Regions from separate parts of the Homo sapiens genome. Here all the other regions are linked to region 1. The links are contacts of gene promoters, found by promoter capture Hi-C in blood cells and fetal thymus (Javierre and others, 2016). All regions are on one chromosome and are shown on one strand. Each heading gives the region's core, a stretch centred on a gene start or on the middle of the fragment in contact. The rest is flanking DNA. Distances are from core to core; before and after follow the strand shown.

What was found. Contacts are between HindIII fragments. The CHiCAGO score rates a contact against its expected background, and 5 or more counts as called.
Region 2: a contact is called between a fragment that was not itself captured here and the fragment with the promoter of NOL8 in region 1, in 1 of 17 cell types (megakaryocytes). The highest score is 5.4, in megakaryocytes.
Region 3: a contact is called between a fragment that was not itself captured here and the fragment with the promoter of NOL8 in region 1, in 1 of 17 cell types (M2 macrophages). The highest score is 6.0, in M2 macrophages.

Annotation. Positions count from the first base shown.
Region 1 is chr9:92,323,596-92,326,953 of GRCh38, reverse strand. It overlaps NOL8 (nucleolar protein 8), which reads left to right and starts at 1,604. Exons shown (of 17, transcript NM_017948.6): 1 at 1,604-1,648; 2 at 2,745-2,931. The coding sequence starts at 2,793. It overlaps CENPP (centromere protein P), which reads right to left and starts at 1,001. Exons shown (of 8, transcript NM_001012267.3): 1 at 849-1,001. The coding sequence starts at 955. RefSeq lists enhancers at 1,396-1,505, 1,536-1,655, 1,434-2,322. The HindIII fragment of the contact is 10,709 bases long and covers 1-3,358 here.
Region 2 is chr9:92,466,908-92,470,474 of GRCh38, reverse strand. The region is part of intron 5 of CENPP (centromere protein P); the gene reads right to left. The region is part of intron 3 of ASPN (asporin); the gene reads left to right. Among named protein-coding and RNA genes, the nearest start is that of ASPN, 14 kb to the left of the region's middle. The HindIII fragment of the contact is 3,693 bases long and covers 63-3,567 here.
Region 3 is chr9:92,574,047-92,577,677 of GRCh38, reverse strand. The region is part of intron 5 of CENPP (centromere protein P); the gene reads right to left. Among named protein-coding and RNA genes, the nearest start is that of ECM2, 40 kb to the right of the region's middle. The HindIII fragment of the contact is 2,459 bases long and covers 95-2,553 here.

The sequences.
Region 1 (3,358 bases), core at 355-2,854:
GCAGACATTTTCTGTAGATCTCCTCCTTCCCATTTTCTACCAATTCTTCTCCAGTTAGCTCAGGAAAAATCCCATTCTTTCTGCACCTATGTCAAATTACTCTTGACTCAAAAATTGAAGACAGTTTATGTTTTCGAGAGGCTTCTATGTTTGAGATGATAATACATAATTACGGTTGCAGAGCTTTTCTCTCCCTCTCCTTCAATAAACCAAAAGTGCCCAGACTTTGGAGTAAAATTTTTGGGTCCCAATCCATCTCTGACAATTCCTTTCTCTGGAACCTTGGACAAGCTACCTAACTTCTCTGAGCCTCAGTTTCTTCAACTATAAAACAGGGCTAACAGTAGCACCTACCTCAGAGGAATGTCAAATTCTCCTGCAGTCTATATTAACTACTTTTCTTTTATCAACTTAGTTTTTTACCGAAGTTATTTTTCAAAGGAATTTTTATGTCATCGTAAACACAAAGTCATTATCAGTTGAGATGGTTAGCTGACCTACCAAAACAAATGCCATGAAACCAAACGGAGTTATTAAATCCCAACTAGAGATACTTCTGCATACTGGAGGCGGAATTATCTAGCTAGGGATATAGTCAAGACTTCCTCCTTGTCAGTCATCCACACAGACGACTGCGATTAAACGAGTTAATACCCTGCAATGCGTTTACAGCTGGGCGCCGTACGCGCTGCTCCCAACTCTAGGCCATCGTCATGACAGGATCAATGCCAGTTCATGCCCACTTTCTAGGGCTGGGAGTAGGAGACCGAGGATGTCTGTGGAGATTCACCCGCCTGGCCCGGGAACCCTGGCCAGCGGGCCCTGGGGGACTTGGGGTGGTCACGTACTGGACTCGGGACTTCTCTTCCCAGGGCGCCGGTGGGTCCTCACACGCTCGCCGCAGGGCCGCGATCTCAGCTTGCAAGGCGCGCACCTCTGCCAGCTCTGCGTCCATGGCGCGTTGCTGACCGCAGCCGGGCCGGCAGCGCAGCTGTCACTCCGACCTGCGCGCTTCACCCGCGCTTCAAGCCTCGCGCGCGCTCCCGGCGCGGACCATCCCAGAGCTCACGCGGAGGGGAGGCGGGAGAGCTCCGCGTGACCCCAGCGGCCCTGCACGTCCAACTCCGCTCTCGCACGAGAGCCTGAGTCCTCCACTTCCCCGCACACGTTTCCCTGGCTGTCTAAGCAGTGGCTATACTTTCTCTGGAGAGCGCGTTCTTTGCTACTCCAAGCCCAAGCGCTCCGCTGCTCACCCTAGCCGGCAGCCTTGGAGCCGCCCGGCCGCGTGCCTCACTAAAGAGGCAGGGCTGGGATCACGTGGAGGGGAGCGCCTCTTTATTTTTTTCACCTACTTCCTCTCTTACGCCGACCTAGTCCAGGAATTGGTACACACAGCGATAGTGTTCAATAGAAACTAGGGGATTTTGGTTTAGGCTCTTTTGCAGTCGTTGAGGGGGAGGTGACGGAGGCGTCAGGGAAGGTGGGAGGACGGAAAAGGAAATTAAAAGCTCTTGGGAACTGAATTGTGGTAACGGAACCTTAGGAGGCTGGGTTGGAAATCGAGTAGGAAGGAAGAGAGGATGCTCCGTTGGGACACGTGACCAGAAGTTAGGGGCTGCAGCGGCGCTGGCTTTAGGTGAACGACGTGGTGAGGAGTGGGTTTCGGGCATGAGAAGTCACAGGGCCGTTTCCTAGTCTCTCTTCACTTCTTTGGGTCTTCTCAGAGAAAGAAGGCTGCCGTGGGTAGGCTGGGGGCGGAGACTATCGGGAAGAGGTAGGCCGAAGTTCTGCCCAGAATACACGCCATGTGGTGGACGCTGGTTGGGAGTCTCTTCTGGAAAGAGTCTGTCAGCTCTTGGGGAAGGGAAGGGCGAGAGCTGAGCGCCTGCCGGGTGCTAAACGAAATGAGAGATACTATGATGGGCCCTAGTACCTCTGGAAAAGTTTTCCTGAGTCCCCTGTGATACAGCAACCTTCATAGTATAGTGTTAAGAATTCCAAGTTCTGAAGGTAGACCTGCATTATAATCCTGGATTCACTAATTTTCGGTATGGCATTGAGGAAGTGACTTAACCTCTTCTGCTCTCCTGAAAAATGGGAAACATGCAAACTACTTTGTACAATGCAGGCACATAGCAAAAACACAAGTCTGTATTCGCTATATCCCTTGATCTTTGTGTCTGAACCCCACTTTGCAGCACTTTTATTGTGACATAATATTGTGCCATTTGTTTTATTCTTTTGTGACTATAAGGAGCTCCTAGCCTCTCTATTCACTTCTTTGGGTCTTCTAGGAGGAAGAAGGCTGGGGTGGGTAGGTTGGGGGTGGAGACAATTAGGAAGAGGTAGGCTAGCTCTTTTTATCTTTTAGTGCGTTACATCCTGTTTCTGTCAGACTTTGTTAAAGACAGTAAATGAATGTATGAGTGAGTCAAGGAAAAACATCTAAAAACATGAATACATAAAATTAAGAGGGATAGAGTGTAATATTATGGCCATTTGGAGGAAAAAAACTCTGTCTGTACCTGTGTCTATATGGGTATGGGGTTGCTGTTCCAAAGTGCATTCATGAAAGATGTGGATGTAGGGCTTGGGCAAAACCTCGAAGACTAAAATTTGGAAGTAATACAATAGGAAGTGAAATACAGATCCAGGAGACGGATTTGATACAGAAGGTTCAGAGGAAGTAGTTGTTTTGTTAGATTTTAGAAGAACTAAGGGAAAGAACTCTTCTCTGTATACAGAAAATTACTTTTCCCACTGAAACACACCCAAGTATATGCCCAGCCTTCATGAAAGTGAACAGAGAAACGAAGCGCCTTTATGTGGGTGGCCTTAGCCAGGACATTTCTGAGGCAGACCTACAAAATCAGTTCAGCAGATTTGGAGAAGTTTCGGATGTGGAGATCATCACACGGAAAGATGACCAAGGTAATTTATGGTCCTTCACTGGGCAGTTATAGGCAGACATAACTCAGGTTAAGTGCTAGAAAATAAAACAACCCCAAGATAAATGTTAGCTCTGAACACCAAAAGTTTTAAGTGATGTTGTGGAGGTATAATGTGTGATGTGGAACTTGACCAGAATTTGTTTCTGAAATAAGAAAAAATTCCAAATTCTAAAACATCTGATTTCAGAAACATATTAACTTCCAGTTTTGAGAACTAGAATTTTCTAACATGGATTAAGTGTCCCGTTAAGTAGACTATCACTAGCATACAATCAAAATGTTTCCTTATCTGACTACTGGACATTTTCTTCTTTTTTTTTTTGGAATATTTTGATAATTATGCTTATTTTTATAGCCAATAAAAAACAAGGTTTATCTTTGAAATAATAAGTTTTCAAGAGCTATTT
Region 2 (3,567 bases), core at 660-3,159, 140 kb before region 1:
GTTTATTAAATAATAGCCATGTAAAATGTAGTGGGCTGAGTTTAATGGTCCTCAAATAAGCTTACAATCTATTCAGGTAGTAACAGTCACTATACATTAAAATGAACAAGAAAACAATTACTTACAGCAATCATTAGCAAACAGTGTAAGAAATCTCTACCCAAACGTGTTAAGACACCACAAATCTCTAACAGCAGCACACAGAATATATCTGATTGATTAATATATACATGTATGGCTTATTTATTGGATCTTTAAAGAAGAAAAGAATTTTTTCTTTACTGTATTAGTATCATTTTAATATTCTAGGATTTAAAAGATTACTACTTCCATGTTTAACATTTTGGGCTGGGTGTGGTGGCTCATGCCTATAATCCCAGCACTTTGGGAGGCCAAGGCGGGCGGATCACTTGAGCCCAAGAGTTCGAGATCAGCCTGGGCAACACAACAAGACTCCACCTCTATAAAAAATACAAAATTAGTTGGCATGGTGGTGGTGCACGTAGTCTTAGCCAAGAGGTAGAGGTTGCAGTGAGCTGTGACTATGCCACTGCACTCTAGCCTGGGTGACACAGTAAGACCCTGTCTTAAAAACAAAAACAAACCAAAAAAATCATTTCGAAGTCTCCAGATTTTAGCAAGTAAAATTTCTGATTTAGTCTGAAATTGGGTTTGGAGGAGCACCTCATTTCCCCCGCCACCGCCTCCCCTCAGCACAGCTCCTGCCTCGCTGACTCTGGCATGGTGTTAGAGGAAGAGCTCTGGTTCTGTATCATCTGAGGTGGTAAGCCAGGCCTGGCTATTCCAGGCCATTTCCCCACACTCTCAGGCTGTGCTGGAGAAAACAAATTTAAAGTCTGTCATCTCTAGATAAGATAAAACTAAGAGAACAGGGTAGAAAATACCATAACAATATTAGCCCCTTGCTACCATGCAGGCCTGGCCTGTTCCTGTGTCTGAGAGATGTGGGGTCACCATGCCTCCCTGTCACCCTGGGTCAGTGCAGTGGACCCTGCTGGCCCATCTCTTCCTCCCTGTCACCCTGGGATTGAGGACATGCATGCTGATCATACTTAAGGCAGACTGAGGGATGCTCAATCCTTGCATCAAGCCTCCCTACAAAATCCAGCTCTCACACTGCCCGGTCAGGTAGCCAGCACCTTGTCTGCTCTTTTCACTTTCAAAGTGTGCAGGCAGCTCAGATCTGGTAAGCCTCCATTATCAATATAAAAGAGCAACTAGAAGAGCATATATTTATAAGTTAGGTCTCACTAAAACATTAAGACAGTCAGAAATGACACAATGGATTCCACCGAGGATCCACCCAGTCCACCCCACTAACTTTAGGCCACAGAATCTTTTGGAGAATGGCAGGCCATTATTCCACCAACAGAAGTTGGAAATATAGCCTGTTGATGCGTTTACCACTTCTTCAACCCCTTTTCAGCTTAGATAACCACAAGAATAATAACTAATGGCATATTTAATACTGGGGCTATGAAAGTTTTAAATTCATCATATCATTATTTTATTACATTTTAGGAGCATTCCAGGGACTTAGTCCATACTTATTCTTGTTATTCACAGGGAAATGAGAAACTAAATGGTATCAGGAGCTTTCTTAGACCTACTTGATTTCCTTTGAGAAATGCATGTCAGGTGTAGAGCAATGGAGGGAAAGCCCCCAGCTGTTAAGTAGTATTACTGCCAAGCTACTATTAGCAGACTGACCAGGTGTACTGATGTAAATCACTTTTTAAAGTACATGCTTTATACTTGAATTGTAGGTATACCACACAATTACAAAACATTTATATAATTATAGTATCACCTTATATGGTACCTGTCTTTTAAGAGAATCAAACTATTTTTTAGACATTCTACAAATTCTCTGTGTTAAGTTTTAGCTGCTTGTTTGGCACTTGGGTTCTTACACAAAGGATGATACAGTCAGAGCAAAATCACTGAACACAATCACAGCCCTCCCAGCTCACTTCCAGCCATTATGAGACACATGTGGCATGAATCACTGTCCTACTACTGAATGGCTATGCTCTTCTCATCTTCTGTCCTTACACTGTTTGTTAATGATGAATTGGAAGCTCTGTGATAATCAAGCCAGCACTGAGAGTGCAGTTTAACTGGATCACTCAGCCAGCTCACCATGCAGGGCAGGCAGTCCACCATGTGGCGCGGCTCTTACCAGTGCTGCACAAAACCTCTTACACAGTTTTGTATTACTTTTCCTTCCTTTTATGCAGTTCCAACAACTGCATGTTTTAATTAGGAAAAACAAACTAATAAAAGCCCAGTGCACTAGACTTGGATCTCACTGACGCACAGGTTCACTTTGTGGTGGGGCCTCTCTAACCCTCACTTGTTGCATGGCATAGGCAAGTCACCTTTCTTCACTTTACGCATTTCCTCATCACTAAAAGGAGAGTAATAATTCCTGCTAAATTTACCTCTTGGAATCAAGAGAGGATTCACAAACCATCTTGATGATCCACCAAGTTGTTAAATTCCCCTCACCTCATTTTTCAGTGTAACCAAAGGAAAAGAGAAGATACTTTTAGTTGGCATCACACACTCACAAACGAGGATATTTTACCAGTTGGTAACAAAATGTAGTTTCACCTCTTCTCCTAGGCTTACCCTTTCTTGGTGAAACTTTTAGCAATAGTGATATATCTGGAATTTCCAGAGGGTGAGAAAAGGAAAGCACAAAGGGCCAAGAGTGAGATGAGGAAACGTGCAGATACAAGTTTACTGAGCAACCAAAATGTGTATTTCTGCCATGGAAAAACAACAACAATATGAGTAATACCAGTGAGGCATATTAAACAAAGGGAGATTTTTGTGAAATGAATTTGAGAACAAAATCATAAAATGAATGAATCTAGAGCTGCTCCTTGAGAAAATCAGATGACCTGGATTGGTAAAGAGGGACAAAAAGGTCCTGAAGACGCTTAGTGGCCTGTCATCATTCTTGGTAAACACAGAAATTCTCTTTGAACAATCTGGCAAAGAGTAAAGAACTGAGCTATGCTCATTTTGCAATGAAAATCCTTATCAGAGTTACCAACATGTCCCAGTTTGCCTAGGACATTCCCAGTTTGGGTTCTGAAATCCCCACATCCCATAATCTCATGATCTGGGCAGACTGAGATGGCTGGTCACCCAAGCAGCCATGCACCCTTGGACATGTTGCAAAAGACTTGTGCAGAGAGCACACTCACACTGGTACGAGCTCTTTTTACTCTCTGGAGTTATTAGACCTCCTCTGGAGGATGCTGTCTTATTGCCCTGAGAAATACCCAAAAAACTGATAAGAGATTGAGTCATTTCTCAGGATCCATTACTATATCCCCAATATCTAAAATATGCCAGAATGCTGAGGGCACATGGTAGGATTTTTTTCCTTACAGGCCTCTGTTCTGGGAGAAATGGTAAACATTAGTAAATATGAAAGAAATGAGGTTTTCAAAGTAGACAAAATCATGCAAAAGTATATTTGGTGTGCACTAAACATAGTTTTGTAGAGTAAATAGATTTTAAGATAAGATA
Region 3 (3,631 bases), core at 75-2,574, 250 kb before region 1:
CAGCTATCTTGATTTTTCTACAAATACCTTCCTTGCTTTTCTTTTCCCTTAGATTTTTTCCTTACTTAAGTATGCACCCCTAAACAAGAAAGCTTATTTTTTTGCCTGTTTCTAAACTTCATGTATATAGAATCATAAAACATATATTTTGACTTATATTGCTCAGTATTTTGTTTGGGAGATTCATTTATGATGTCGTATGTAGCTCCATGGTGTTGTTCTTCTCAATTCTAAATGGTATTTCATAATAAGAATACATCACAGCCTCCCGAGTAGTGAGGACTACAGGTGCCCGCCACCATGCCCAGCTAATATTTTGTATTTTTAGTAGAGACAGGGTTTTGCCATGTTGGCCAGGCTGGTCTTGAACTCCTGGCCTCAAGTGATCAGCCTGCCTCAGCCTCCTAAAGTGCTGGGATTACAGCCGTGAGCCACTGCACCCAGCCCCTGTGCGTGTTTCTTGATATACATGTGCACATGTTTCTTTGGATATATATATACACACACACCTAGGGATATGTGAATCTTCAAATTTTACAGATAATGTCTAAGTATTTTTGTCAGTTTACAGTTCCATCAGCAGTATATGAGAATATCTATTGTTCCATATCCTAATAATTGGCAGGGTTAGTCTTTTTAATATTCTTTTTAATACCCACCATTCTGGTAGGTATGCTATGGAATCTCATAATGATTTAAAATTGCTTTTCTTTTATTAATGGATTTAACACTTACATTTGTTTACTCACCATTTGAATTTTGTTAGTATTTTTGGTGCAAACGGTCTGATCAAATTGCTTACCTATTTTCATACTGAGTTGTCTGTCTTTACCTGCCATACATACTACTTATTTACTGTTTCCAAGATATATTCTGGCCTGGCATGGTGGCTCATGCCTGTAATAATCTGTACACTTTGGGAGAGGCTGAGACACTGCCAAAATATGATTTAAATCATATTTAAGCCATTATGTATACACATGTAATGCATTATGATTTAAATAATAAACATTATATATAACAATTATTATTTAAATCTTAATGCATTGTATGCCTATTTATTGATATGAGATATCAATAGATATACATATCCCATAATAAATATCCCACATCAACAAACAGGCATACAATGCATTATGATTTTTAAAAATTATTGTTGTAAAATACAGATAACATAAAATTTATCATCTTAACCACTTTTAAGTGGTTTAAGTTTAGTGCTATTAAATATATTCATAATGTTGTGCAACCATCACCACTGTCCATTTTCATAACTGTTTTCCTGTTGTAAAATCGAAACTTGACACCTATTAAACACTGACTCCCCATTCCTTCCTCCCTTTGCCTTTAGCAACCACCCTAAATCTCTCCTATTTAGACTACTCTAAGTACCTCATGTAAGTGAAATCATACAGTATTTGTCTTTTTGTGACTGGCTATATCACTTAGCATAATGTCCACAAACTTCATCCATTTTGTAGCACATATCAGAATTTCCTTCCTTTTTAAGCTGAATAATATTCCATTATATGGACAGACTGCATTTGTTTATCTATTTATCCTTTGATGAACACTTGGATTGCTTCCAATGTTATAGCTACGGTGAATAATGCTGCTGTGAACATAGGGGTAGAAATATCTGAAGACTCTGCTTTCAGTTATTCTGGCATGTACCTCAGGTGAAATCAGTGGATCACATGGTAATTCTATTTTTAATTTTCTTAGGAACTGCTATGCTGTTTTCTATAGCAGCTGTACCATTTTATATCCCTACTATAACAGCGCGCAACGGTTCTAATTTTTCTACTTTCTTGCCAGTGCTTGTTATTTTCTGTTTTTTGGATAGGAGACATTCTTTTTTTTTTTGAAATGGAGTCTCACTCTGTCACCCAGGCTGGAGAGCAGTGGTGCAATCTCGGCTCACTGCAACCTCCACCTCCCAGGTTCACGCAATTCTCCTGTCTCAACCCCACAAGTAGCTGGGATTACAGGTGTACGCCATCATGCCCAGCTAATTTTTGTACTTTCAGTAGACACGGGGTTTCACCATGTTGGCCAGGCTGGTCTTGAACTCCTGACCTCGTGATCTGCCTGCCTTGGCCTCCCAAAGTGCTGAGATTACAGGCGTGAGCCACCGCGCCCAGCCTGGATAGGAGACATTCTAATGGGTGTGAGGTGGTATCTCACTGTATTTTAATTTGTAGCTCCCTAATGATTAGTGATGTTGAGCATCTCTTCATGTACTTAATGGCCATTTGTGTATATGTTCTTGGAGAAATGTCTATTCAAGTCCTTTGCCCATTTTTGAACAGAGTTGTTTTGGTGTTGAGTTTTAGGAGTTCTCTTTATATTCTGTATTATAATCCCTTATCAGATACATGATTTGCAAAATTTTGTCCTATTTGTGAGTTGCCTTTTCACTGTTCATAATGTCTGTTAGTACACAAAACTTTTACATTTTCACTAAGTCCAATCTGTCTCTTCTCCTTAAGTTGACTATACCTTTGCTGTCATATCTAAGAAATCACTTGCCAAATCCAATGTAGTGAAGCTTTTCCTGTTTTCTAAGACTATTATACTTTTAGGTTTTACATGTAGGTCTTTGATCCATTTTGAGTTAATTTTTGTATATGGTGTTAGCTAAGGTTCCAACTTCATACTTTTGCATGTGGATATCCAGATTTCCAGGCACCATGTGTTAAATGAATGTCATTTCCCCATTGAATGGTCTTGGCACATTAGTCAAAATTCATTTGACTAAGTACGGGTGGGTTCATTTTGGACTCTGTATTCTATTCCATTAGCCAATGTCTGTCTTTAAATCAGTCCTACATTGTTTTGATTATTGTAGCTTTGTAGTAAGTTTTGAAATTAAGAAATGAGTCCTCCAGCTTTGTTCTTTTTGAAGATTGTTTTGGCTACTCAGGGTCCCTTGAGATTCCATGTGAATTCTAGAATGAGTTTTTCTATTTCTGCGAAAAACATCACTGGAATTTTGATAGAGATTTCATTGAATCTGTAGATTGCTTTGAGTAGTACTGACATCTTAACACAGAGTCTTCCAATCCATGAATTTGGGACGTGTTTCCACTGATTTATGTCTTATTTTCTTTCAGCAATGTTTTGAAGTTTTCATTGTACAAATCTTTCACCTTCTTGGTTAATTCCTAGGTATTTTATTCTTTTTTTATGCTATTGTAACAAAATTGTTTTTGTAATTTCCTTTCCAGATATTGTTCACTGTTAGTGTATAGAAATCCAACCCATTTTTGTTATTGTTTTTCTAACCAATTTTAGTGTGTTCACTTTGTATTCTGCTACTTTGCTGAATTTATTTGTTTTCACAGGTTTTTGGGGGTAGAATCCTTAGTTTTTTACATATAGATCACATAATCTGTAAACATAATTTAACTTGTAGACAGCCTATAGTTACATCATTAAAAAAAATACATTCTGGGGGGAGGTTCCAAGATGGCTGAACAGGAACAGCTCCAGTCTATAGCTCCCAGCGTGAGCGATGCAGAAGACGGGTGATTTCTGCATTTCCAACTGAGGTACCGGGTTCATCTCACTAGGGCTTGTCGGACAGTGGGTGCAGCCCATGCAGCAGGGTGGGGCATCGCCTCACCTG